3 separate regions of the Homo sapiens genome follow, and all the other regions are linked to region 3. The links are contacts of gene promoters, found by promoter capture Hi-C in human tissues and cell types (Jung and others, 2019). All regions are on one chromosome and are shown on one strand. Each heading gives the region's core, a stretch centred on a gene start or on the middle of the fragment in contact. The rest is flanking DNA. Distances are from core to core; before and after follow the strand shown. Region 1 has its middle 21 kb from the start of MIR588. Region 2 has its middle 66 kb from the start of MIR588. Region 3 holds the start of RSPO3 (R-spondin 3).

Region 1 (3,313 bases), core at 77-2,576, 610 kb before region 3:
ACCATTTATTTTACTACCTGGGGTTTTCTTTTTTTTCTTTTTCTTTTTTTTTTTTTTGAGACAGAGTCTCGCTCTGTAGCTCAGGCTGGAGTGCAGTGGCGCTGTCTCGGCTCACTGCAAGCTCCGCCTCCCAGGCTCATGCCATTCTCCTGCCTCAGCCTCCCGAGTAGCTGGGACTACAGGCGCCCGCCATGACGCCCAGCTAATTTTTTGTATTTTTTAGTAGAGACGGGGTTTCACCGTGTTAGCCAGGATGGTCTCGATCTCCTGACCTTGTGATCCGCCCACCTCGGCCTTGCAAAGTGCTGGGATTACAGGCGTGAGCCACCGCGCCCGGCCCTGGGGTTTTCTTTTACTCCTGCAAATGTTTGTTCCACTTTCCAGTCTTAAAATTATCACTGACAAAAAGCACAAAAGAAAGTCGTTTCATATTTTTTCCATTGTCTTTTGCCATCACATCATATTTCTGAACAAAGGGGCTACCTCTTTTTCATCAAGTGGTTCTAATATAGCTTCATAACACTCTTCAATATACCCACTCATTTAATTTCATTCTTGGAGCTAATATCTTAACATTATAAGTAAGAACTCTTTTTTCTCTTATAATTATTAAAGTATACAATTATTGAATATTTATATTCAAATTACTATCTTCACAATAAGACTAAAACATAAATTATATATAATTACATATATACATTATTTATTCTAAAGTAATTTACAACTTATATGTTGGGAACAGGCCCCAAAATCTGGCCATATACTGGTCCCAAAACTGGCCATAAACAAAATCTCTGCAGCACTGTGACACGCTCGTTATGGTCTCGACGCCCATGCTGGAAAGTTGTCCGTTTACCGGAAAGAGGGCAAGGAACACCTGGCGCACCCAGGGCGGAAAACTGCTTAAGCCATTCTTAAACCACAAAGAATAGCATGAGCTATCTGTGCCTTAAGGACATGTTTATGCTGCAGATAACTAGCCAGAGCCCATCCCTTTATTTTGGCCCATCCCTTTATTTCCCGTAAGGAATACTTTTAGTAAATCTTATGACTGGCTTGCTGTCAATAAGTATGTGGGTAAATCTCTGTTCAAGGCTCTCAGCTCTGAAGGCTGTGAGACCCCTGATTTCCCACTCCACACTCTGTATTTCTGTGTGTGTGTCTTTAATTCCTCTAGCGCTGCTGGGTTAGTGTCTCCACAACCGAGCTGGTCTTGGCAAGTGGTGCCCATACGTGGAGTCTCGAACCCAGGTCAAAGGGTCACTGGAGCGACGGTTGGAGAATGTGGAACTAAGCTGGAGGACACCTGAGTACTCATAAGCAATCCCTGTGGTGAGGGGAGCTTGGAAGCATCAGGGTAACAATGGGACAAGTGTGGGCTCTGGCTTGTTCTACGTTGGAACCTTTTCACACTAATAATAAAAGGAAGGAAAGTATAATGAAATAACAGAAGAGATGACAGAGCAGGTTTGTTTGCCAGCTAAAGCTAAAGCAGCAAAGGAGGAAGAGGTTCATCCCTACCCTTCTGCACCCCCTACTTATTTTGAAGAAAAAGAGTGGCCTGACCCTCCAGAGCTTTCTTTTCCGGAGGACACTGGGCTGTCTAAGCCATTTGAGCTCCTTGTGGGAGGGGTAGCAGCCAACACTGGGACTGATAGCTGCCTAAGATCCCAGGGTGGGGAAAGGGCGGCAGCCATCTCTTCAGCTTCAGGCCATGCTTTTCCCCTGCTGGAGCCAGGGAGGCTAGACAGATTGGTCCCAAGAGGTATCCCCACAGCCCAACACACTGGCTTTGGCAGACTGTGACCAGAGTGCCTCTTCAGGCCCAACCCTGACCCATCCCTCCTTACTGGGCAGGGCCTCCCTGCAGGAACTTCAACAACTCTAGCCAGGGACTCAGGGACAGAACTCTGATCTCCCTGGGTATGAGCCTCTAGGGGGAGGGGTGGCCATAATCTCCACAGACCAGCATAGTTAGTCTTTCCTCCTGCTAGTCTGAGGAATCTGGGCAGCCCAGATGAGTGGGTTTCCCCCCAGTGAAGCATACCCCCTCCACCAAGGGATAGTCAAAGTGCTTCATTAAATGAGTCCTGCTCCCATGCCACCCAACTAGGTGAGACCCTCCAACAGGGGTTGTCAGACACCCTATGTAGGAGCATTCCTACTGGCATTGGATCAGTGCCCCTTGAGGTCAGAGATCCCAGAGGAAGGAGCAGGCACCCATCTTTGCTGTTCTCCAGCCTCCTCGAGTGACATATCCACATGCAGGAGTGAACCAGAGGAATAGGACCTGAAGTGAACCCCCAGCAAACTGCAGTAGCCCTACAGAAGAGGGACGTGACTATTGAGAGAAAAACAAACAGAAAGCAGCAACAACAACATCAACAAAAAAAGTCCCCACCAAAACCCATCCAAGGGTCGGCAGCCTCAAAGATTGAAACTAGACAAACTCATGAAGATGAAAAAGAGTCAATGAAAAAAAAAATGCTGAAAACTCAAAAGGCCAGAGTGCCTCTATTCCAAATGATCGCAACACCTCTACAGCAAGGTGCAGAACTGGACAGAGAATGAGATGGATGAAATGACAGAAGTAGGCTTCAGAAGGTTGGTAATAACAAACTCCACTGAGTTAAAGGAGCATGTTCTAACCCAATGCAAAGAAACTAAGAAACTTGATTAAAGGTTACAGGAGCTGCTAACTAGAATAACCAGTTTGGAGAGGAACATATATGACTTGATGGAGCTGAAAAACATAGCAAGAAAACATTGTGAAGCATACACAAGTATCTATAGCCGAATTGACCAAGCAGAAGAAAGGATATCAGAGTTTAAGACCATCTTGCTGAAATAAGGCATGTAGGCAAGATTAGAGAAGAAAAGAATGAAAAGGAACAAATGAAACCTCAGAGAAATATGGGACTATGTAAAAAGTCTGAACCTACGATTGATTGGAGTACCTGAAAGAGACTAGGAGAATGAAACCAAATTGGAAATCACACTTCAGGATATTATCCAAGAGAACTTCCCCAAGTGAGCAAGACAGGCCAACATTCAAATTTAGGAAATTCAGAGAACATCGCTAATACTCCACGAGAAGATCAAACCCAAGAAACATAATCATCAGATTCTTTAAGGTTGAAATGAAGGAAAAAATGTTAAGGGCAGCCAGAGAGAAAGGCCAGGTCACCTACAAAGGGAAGCCTATCAGACTAACAGCAGACCTGTCAGCAGAAACCTAAAGCCAGAAGTGAGTGGAGGCCAACATTCAACATTCTTAAAGAAAAAATTTTCAACCCAGAAGCTTCATAAGCAA
Region 2 (3,078 bases), core at 98-2,597, 570 kb before region 3:
TTATTTGGCTCATGCTGAATTTGTACGAAATTTTGTATTTTTGACAGCACATTCAATCAGTTGGACTTTCTTTGTATTCAAGAGATGTTATTGTGCTTTTCAAAATATAAGTTCAGATCTGGGGTTTTAATCAATTATTCGCTCACTCATTTCTCTATTCAATAAATGCCTACTATGTCTCAAGCACAGAACGTAAAAAGTTAAGCCAGAAAGATAGTGCATTCTTTACCTCATGAAGCATTTATATATGTTTCATCTGGTTAGGATCACGTCCTGATTCTAGCCCAGGAGTTCTCAACTAAGGGAGATTTTGCTCCCAGGAGACATTTGGCAATGTCGGGGAACATTTTTGATTATCAAAATAGAGCAGAGGGGAGGTGACATATGCCAGTAGCTTATCTCAGAAAATGTACCTCCTTGGCCGGGCGCGGTGGCTCACGCCTGTAATCCCAGCACTTTGGGAGGCCGAGGCGGGCGGATCACGAGGTCAGGAGATCGAGACCATCCCGGCTAAAACGGTGAAACCCTGTCTCTATTAAAAATACAAAAAATTGGCCGGGCGTAGTGGCGGGCGCCTGTAGTCCCAGCTACTTGGGAGGCTGAGGCAGGAGAATGGCGTGAACCCGGGAGGCGGAGCTTGCAGTGAGCCGAGATCCCGCCACTGCACTCCAGCCTGGGCGACAGAGCGAGACTCCGTCTCAAAAAAAAAAAAAGAAAATGTACCTCCTTATATTTTATCAGCAAATATAATGAACTTGTCTCCTATGTCTTTTCTCAAGTAGCTGATAAAAATGCTTACCAGAAAACCATAAGCACAAAACTGAATGACACACACTAGACAATTCATTCACCTGGTTGAGTTTTCTCCATTAATCAATACTCATAGGGCACTGCCTGCAATCAGACCCCAGTTTAGTATTGAAACAGAAGAGTTCCCTTATACCCTTTGCAGGTCCTGTGACAGGGGTGTGGCTGGCTCCTTTGGTCACCCTGCTGCTCTCAAACCCCTAGGGGGAGCATGCAGACAGGCAGGTGCAGAGGCCATAGGGATCGCTTTTGGGCTCCGTCCCCACAGCAATGTTTAGGGGTGGGTGTCTGTGACTCCTGAAGCCCAAGTAGGTGTGTGTTACGGTGTGCTCTTTCAGCTTTGCCATCTACAGACGGCTTGTGTTAATCAGCTCACTAGACCTTCTGCCTTATCGCAAGGGCAGAGGGCTAGTGCAACAGCTTTCTATATCCCAAGCTCTTGCCCAGTGTACCAGAAGAATCAGATCACATGTGGACTCAAAGGATGAGTGCAAGGTTTTATTGAGTGGTGGAGGTTGCTCTCAGTGAGATGGACGGGGAGGTGTAAAGCAGGGGATGGAGTGGGAAGGTGGTCTTCCCCTGGAGTCAGGCCGCCCAGCTACCAGGCTCTTCTCCGACTGCCTTTGGCTGAACTCCCCTCAGCCAGATGTCCTTCCTCTTCTCTCTTTCTCTGCTGTGTTGTTCTGTTGTTGCTGGTCTGCTGGTGTCTGCTGGTCTGTTCCTCTGCTCCTCTTGATATTCAGCCACTTGTGTCTGTGCCTCCTATGGTCTCATGTTTATATGAGCACAGGATGGGGGCATGGCGGGCCAGAGTGGTCTTGGAAAATGCAACATTTGGGCGTGAAAACAGGAGTGCCTGTTCTCACTTAGGTCCGTGGGCCCAGGCTTGAGGATTGAGCCTTTGCCAGGGACCCCACCCATCTCTACCCAGCACCTCCCTGCCCTGCTCCCGTGTCAGTATCATCATCATCCTGGCCACATTTCTTCCTCCTGTCAGTGACATCTTAAAAAGCTTTTTCAAACGTCTTCCTAAAATCAAGATAATGTGGAGTTTACCCTCTTAAAGAGCACCAATAATGAAATGTAGTTTGTATACACCATTCTCTTGTAGTGAGCTTGTAAGTTCCTAGTGACCACAGTGTTCTTTAGAAGTACCCTAAAGGTGTTTATTCCAGAATCTCCAATGGACTAATGCAGAATTTACTGATCTGGAAATATCTTTTATACATTCTGAAAATATTTAATCACTTTCCATATTTTGGTAAGTTTTCATTTCTCAAAGATTTCCACTGATTACTTACAGTATTTTTCCAGTGTTGGTTCCTGAACTGACATATATGCCTAGCTCTGTGCTTGGTTTTAGAAAAAGATAATTAATATAGGGTCTTTATTTCCACACCAGCTATGAAAGAGTTAACAACATTTTAACAACTAACAAAAGAGAATAATGACAAGTGTTGTAACATACATATAAATTAACAGTGGAAGTCCAGAGATAGAAAATTTTCTGAGACTATCAAGTAAAGTTCCCTAGAGAAGAAGATAGTCGAGTGGATCATTAAAAGAGGAGTGGATTTCTTTAGGTGCAGAAGTCTTTTTGCATTTCATGGATAACAAATGCCACAAACAAAATTAGAATGGCATGATGTTATAAGATATGTTTGGGAAGCATCAGACAATCCAATGTGGCTAGAGGATGTGGGCTGCAGAGATGGTGGGAAATGCAAATGTAGTTGTGACACATTCATGAATGGCCTTGATGGCAAGCCAAGGAGTTTGAGCATTATTCTGTAATGTGCCATTTCATTTGTGATTAGTAAAGGAGCAAGGCAATTAAAATTAAATTTACATGTAACTCCAATCTTCAAACCAACATTTCAAAGTCATTAGCCTCAATTTTATAGATATATAAGCCAGGATTCAGTGAGTGATGGACTGTTGTTTTTTTTTTGTTGTTGTTGTTGTTTTGGGAGAGGGGAGGGGGAAAGAGATTCACTCCTCTTGCCCAGGCTGGAGTGCAATGGCGCCATCTCAGCTCACCACAATTTCCACCTCCCAGGTTCAAGCGATTCTCCTGCCTCAGCTTTCCGAGTAGCTGGGATTACAAGCATGCACCACCACAACCGGCTAATTTTGTATTTTTAGTAGAGACAGGGTTTCTCCATGTTGGTCAGGTTGGTCTCAAACTCCGGACCTCAGGTGATCTGCCCACCTCAGCCTCCCAAAGTGCTGGGATTACAGGCGTGAGCCACCGTGCCTGGCCAGTGATGG
Region 3 (3,543 bases), core at 684-3,183:
CTCTCAGATTCTAATTTTTAGCATCTTGAAAATAATGCATATTTCAAGTTCCCTTCCTTTTGCATCCAGGCCACTTTATCGCCTCTATCCTACTTTTGGGATGTATAACAAATATACCACTAAAGGACTCCAGAGACATACAATTCACAGCATTGCAAACTTACAAAATGCTCTAATTCATGTAAATTTACCTAATTTACATAAATTGAAGGCAATCCAGTAATAGGGATTACAAATGGAGGAAGGAGATAGAAGTGCAAGTGTCACTTGCTACTCTGCAAGGCTTTAGCAATTGACTTACACTGAATTATTTGAGCACAAAAATTAGCAAAGCACCTATGAATCAGGGACTCTTTCAAAGTGACCTCCCAGAAGTTTGCTGCTGTGTTAACCTGTAGTGCTAGTGTAGTCCTTCAGATATTCTGTTAAATATAATACATAGGGCAGGCTTATGTTAAAATCACTTGAGGCTTGTGACTTTCGACTAAATACTTCTTCAGTAATTACTGAAAAGTTCATCGGCTGGTGCTACCGGAGAAAAGACGTGGAAAGCTCACCATTTACTAACGACAGCCAGGGTGTGCCCCACTCAGGGGTGCCGGCCCTCTGTTCTCCCATCCCTGGGTGGGCCAGAGCATCTTACTCTCTGCTGCCTTGGGCCTCCACTTGGGCTGGGAAGATAAGAAAGTAGTGGACCTTCCCCTTCCTTCCCCAAGACTGGGAAAATCTTTCCAAATCTTATTCCCAGTCTTCCAGATGCGAGATTAGAATGTACAACAGATCCTCTCAAGAACACTGGGAGACCGAGGGTGGGAGAGAAAACTCCAAGGGGGGCGAGCTGACTATAGAGGGAATTGCCTGAGCGGGAAAGGAATCTTCCAAAGCCACAGAAAAGCCTTGGTTTGGAAGAAAGCCGTAGCACAGCTGCATTTCCAACGGGAAGGTCCTGAGCGCACACACTTCTGGGTCCTCCCCGCTCGGAGCAGGTAAACCTCAGAGTAGCTGACCGGCAGCACCCACAGAGTTTCCTCCCCACCACCCGCCTGGCGACCAACTGCAGCCGAAAAGAAAGAAAGAAAGGAAAGAAAGAAAGAAAGAAGAAGGAAGGAAGGAAGGAAGGAAGGAAGGAAGGAAGGAAGGAAAGAAAGAAAGAAAGACAAAGAAAGAGGAAGGAAGAAAGAAAGAAAAGAAAGAAAGAGAAAGAAAGAAAGAAAGAAAGAAAGAAAGAAAGAAAGAAAGAAAGAAAGAAAGAAAGAAAGAAAGAAAGAAAGAGAGAGAAAAAGAAAAAGGGAGAAAGGCAACAGAGGAGAAGGTCAGGAAAGCCGGGAACAAGTCAGCAGCCAGAAACTCTCCAGCGATCTGCCAAGGGGGAGAGGGTAGTTGCGCGCCGGCGCTGGGGATGGGGTGGGGGCGCTGGGGCACAAGGGCGCAGGGGCGCACGGCCACCGACAGCCGGGTGCGCCTAGCTTGAGGCCGCGGAGAGGAGCCGAACTGGGATGGGTGGGGGGTCTTCGGCCTCAACACTGCCTGCCAGCCCCAGTGCGCCCAAGTCTCCCCGCCAGAGCTGCCCTTCTGGAGGGGCTCTTCGCACGCACTGCTTTCCCCATTCTTCTGGCTGGAATTCTCCGGCCGTCACTGCAGTGTCCAGAGATGCTGCGCTGTAGACCCGGGACCCCTTAGGCGCCTCTTCCCGTCCCTCTGCCAAAGCGCAACGCCTGTACTTTTCCAGCTCCCTCTTTCCCTCTTGAAATTGAAAGTTATTGAGGTCGCTCAGGGTTGTTGCTCCAGCAGTTTCCTTCCCCGCCCCCGAGCTCCCCCCCGCCCCCCACAGCCATCCCCCCTCCTCTCCCCCTCCCTGCCCTCCTCTCCCTCCCCCCTCCCTGCCCTCCTCCTCCTCCTCCCCTATGTGGTGCTCCCGGGAGCCCAGCCCAACACTGGAGCGTCTCCTGCTCGCGCACGCCAGAAGCAGCTCGGGGTCTCTCCGCCGCCCCTTGGCCATGGCCGCTGTGCCGACGGCGCCCGCTCCCCTGCGCTCCAGGGGCCCCCGCCGCTGCAGCCGCAGCCGCCGCAGCTTCTGAGCCCAAGGGGCCGCCGCTGCAGCCGCCGCCGCCGCCGCTCGCCCGCCCGGATCCCGCCTGCGGCAGTTGCCGCACAACATGCTACCTGCGGCCGCCCCGGCGGCTCCTGGAACCCCGGTTCGCGGCGATGCCAGCCACCCCAGCGAAGCCGCCGCAGTTCAGTGCTTGGATAATTTGAAAGTACAATAGTTGGTTTCCCTGTCCACCCGCCCCACTTCGCTTGCCATCACAGCACGCCTATCGGATGTGAGAGGAGAAGTCCCGCTGCTCGGGCACTGTCTATATACGCCTAACACCTACATATATTTTAAAAACATTAAATATAATTAACAATCAAAAGAAAGAGGAGAAAGGAAGGGAAGCATTACTGGGTTACTATGCACTTGCGACTGATTTCTTGGCTTTTTATCATTTTGAACTTTATGGAATACATCGGCAGCCAAAACGCCTCCCGGGGAAGGCGCCAGCGAAGAAGTAAGTGCAGGGTTTTTTACGCGTTTGCTCCCTCCCGCCGCGTTCACCTGTCGGGTCGCTTTGCCTGTCCGGAGCCGGCTCCCAACTGCAGCGGTCCTCCCGCCCTGCGCCTCGCAGAGGAGATGCAGGTTCGGGCTTTGGGGGTATGGACGGCGTCTTTCACCCTTGCCTCTCGGCGCCCCTGCCTTCCGCAGCATCCTAGCCGGTGCGAGGGGCGGGCGGACGCGGCGCTAAGGTGGCTCCCGCCCCATGGTAACTTCAGGTTCGCGGGAAAGTTCGGTCCTGGGTTAGACTCGCACCCGGGATTTGTGCTTTCCTTTTGAGGATCGGACAGGGGCACCCAGCCGAAGGCACTTGGGACTCCCAGACGCAGGATGCCTCTGACCGCTGAGTAAATGACAAGGGAGGCGCGGCCGCGGTACCCGCTCACCTAGCGCAACCGCCTCGCGCGGGGAGACCTCGGCTGGGCCCTTAGGCTGGACTCCGGTAGCCGAACGCCCGCTACCCGGCCAGGAAGCCAGGGAGCGAGCGCCTGCGCGGCCGCATCCCCGACACGCACCAGCGGAGCCAAAGGGCGCGCGAGGCGATGGGGTTCGCGTGTCTGCGCGTTTGCAGAGCTGCCGGACGTCCCCCGCCCGAGGGTTGAAGACAGCAAAACCCCAGCTGTGGGGAGCCGGAGGTGCGGAGTTTCCAGGTTCTCTCTTGTCACATGTGAGCGTCTGTACCATCTCTGGCCCTTTCAAGTGTGTCCCCTGGGACACACACGTACAGAGAGTGGGGTCTCCCTAAAGATTCGCCTCCTCGCTGCCCTTAATGCTGTTATTTGGAGGGTTGGATTGTGATGGCTTCTTAAGACGGTGTCCTAGCTGGAATTAAGCGGACACCACCACGGCAGCCTCAACCTGGGTTGGTCTGTCTGAAAGGTAGAATCTTCCCAAGATGAAGGGACAGATGCGAAGGTGTCACCTCTCCTCGCTCCAGGGTAGCCTGG

Evidence for each region. Contacts are between HindIII fragments. The study calls those that stand out against the background at their distance.
Region 1: a contact is called between a fragment that was not itself captured here and the fragment with the promoter of RSPO3 in region 3, in 2 of the 25 tissues and cell types used here (H1 embryonic stem cells and bladder).
Region 2: a fragment that was not itself captured here is called in contact with the fragment with the promoter of RSPO3 in region 3 in 2 of the 25 tissues and cell types used here (H1 embryonic stem cells and thymus).

What each region holds. Positions count from the first base shown.
Region 1 is chr6:126,504,137-126,507,449 of GRCh38, forward strand. No RefSeq gene overlaps it. Among named protein-coding and RNA genes, the nearest start is that of MIR588, 21 kb to the left of the region's middle. The HindIII fragment of the contact is 5,823 bases long and covers 1-3,313 here.
Region 2 is chr6:126,549,519-126,552,596 of GRCh38, forward strand. No RefSeq gene overlaps it. Among named protein-coding and RNA genes, the nearest start is that of MIR588, 66 kb to the left of the region's middle. The HindIII fragment of the contact is 6,525 bases long and covers 1-3,078 here.
Region 3 is chr6:127,116,738-127,120,280 of GRCh38, forward strand. RSPO3 (R-spondin 3) reads left to right here and starts at 1,934. Exons shown (of 5, transcript NM_032784.5): 1 at 1,934-2,552. The coding sequence starts at 2,456. It overlaps LOC105377989 (a long non-coding RNA gene), which reads right to left. Exons shown (of 14, transcript XR_002956387.2): 4 at 2,164-3,543. The HindIII fragment of the contact is 6,946 bases long and covers 1-3,543 here.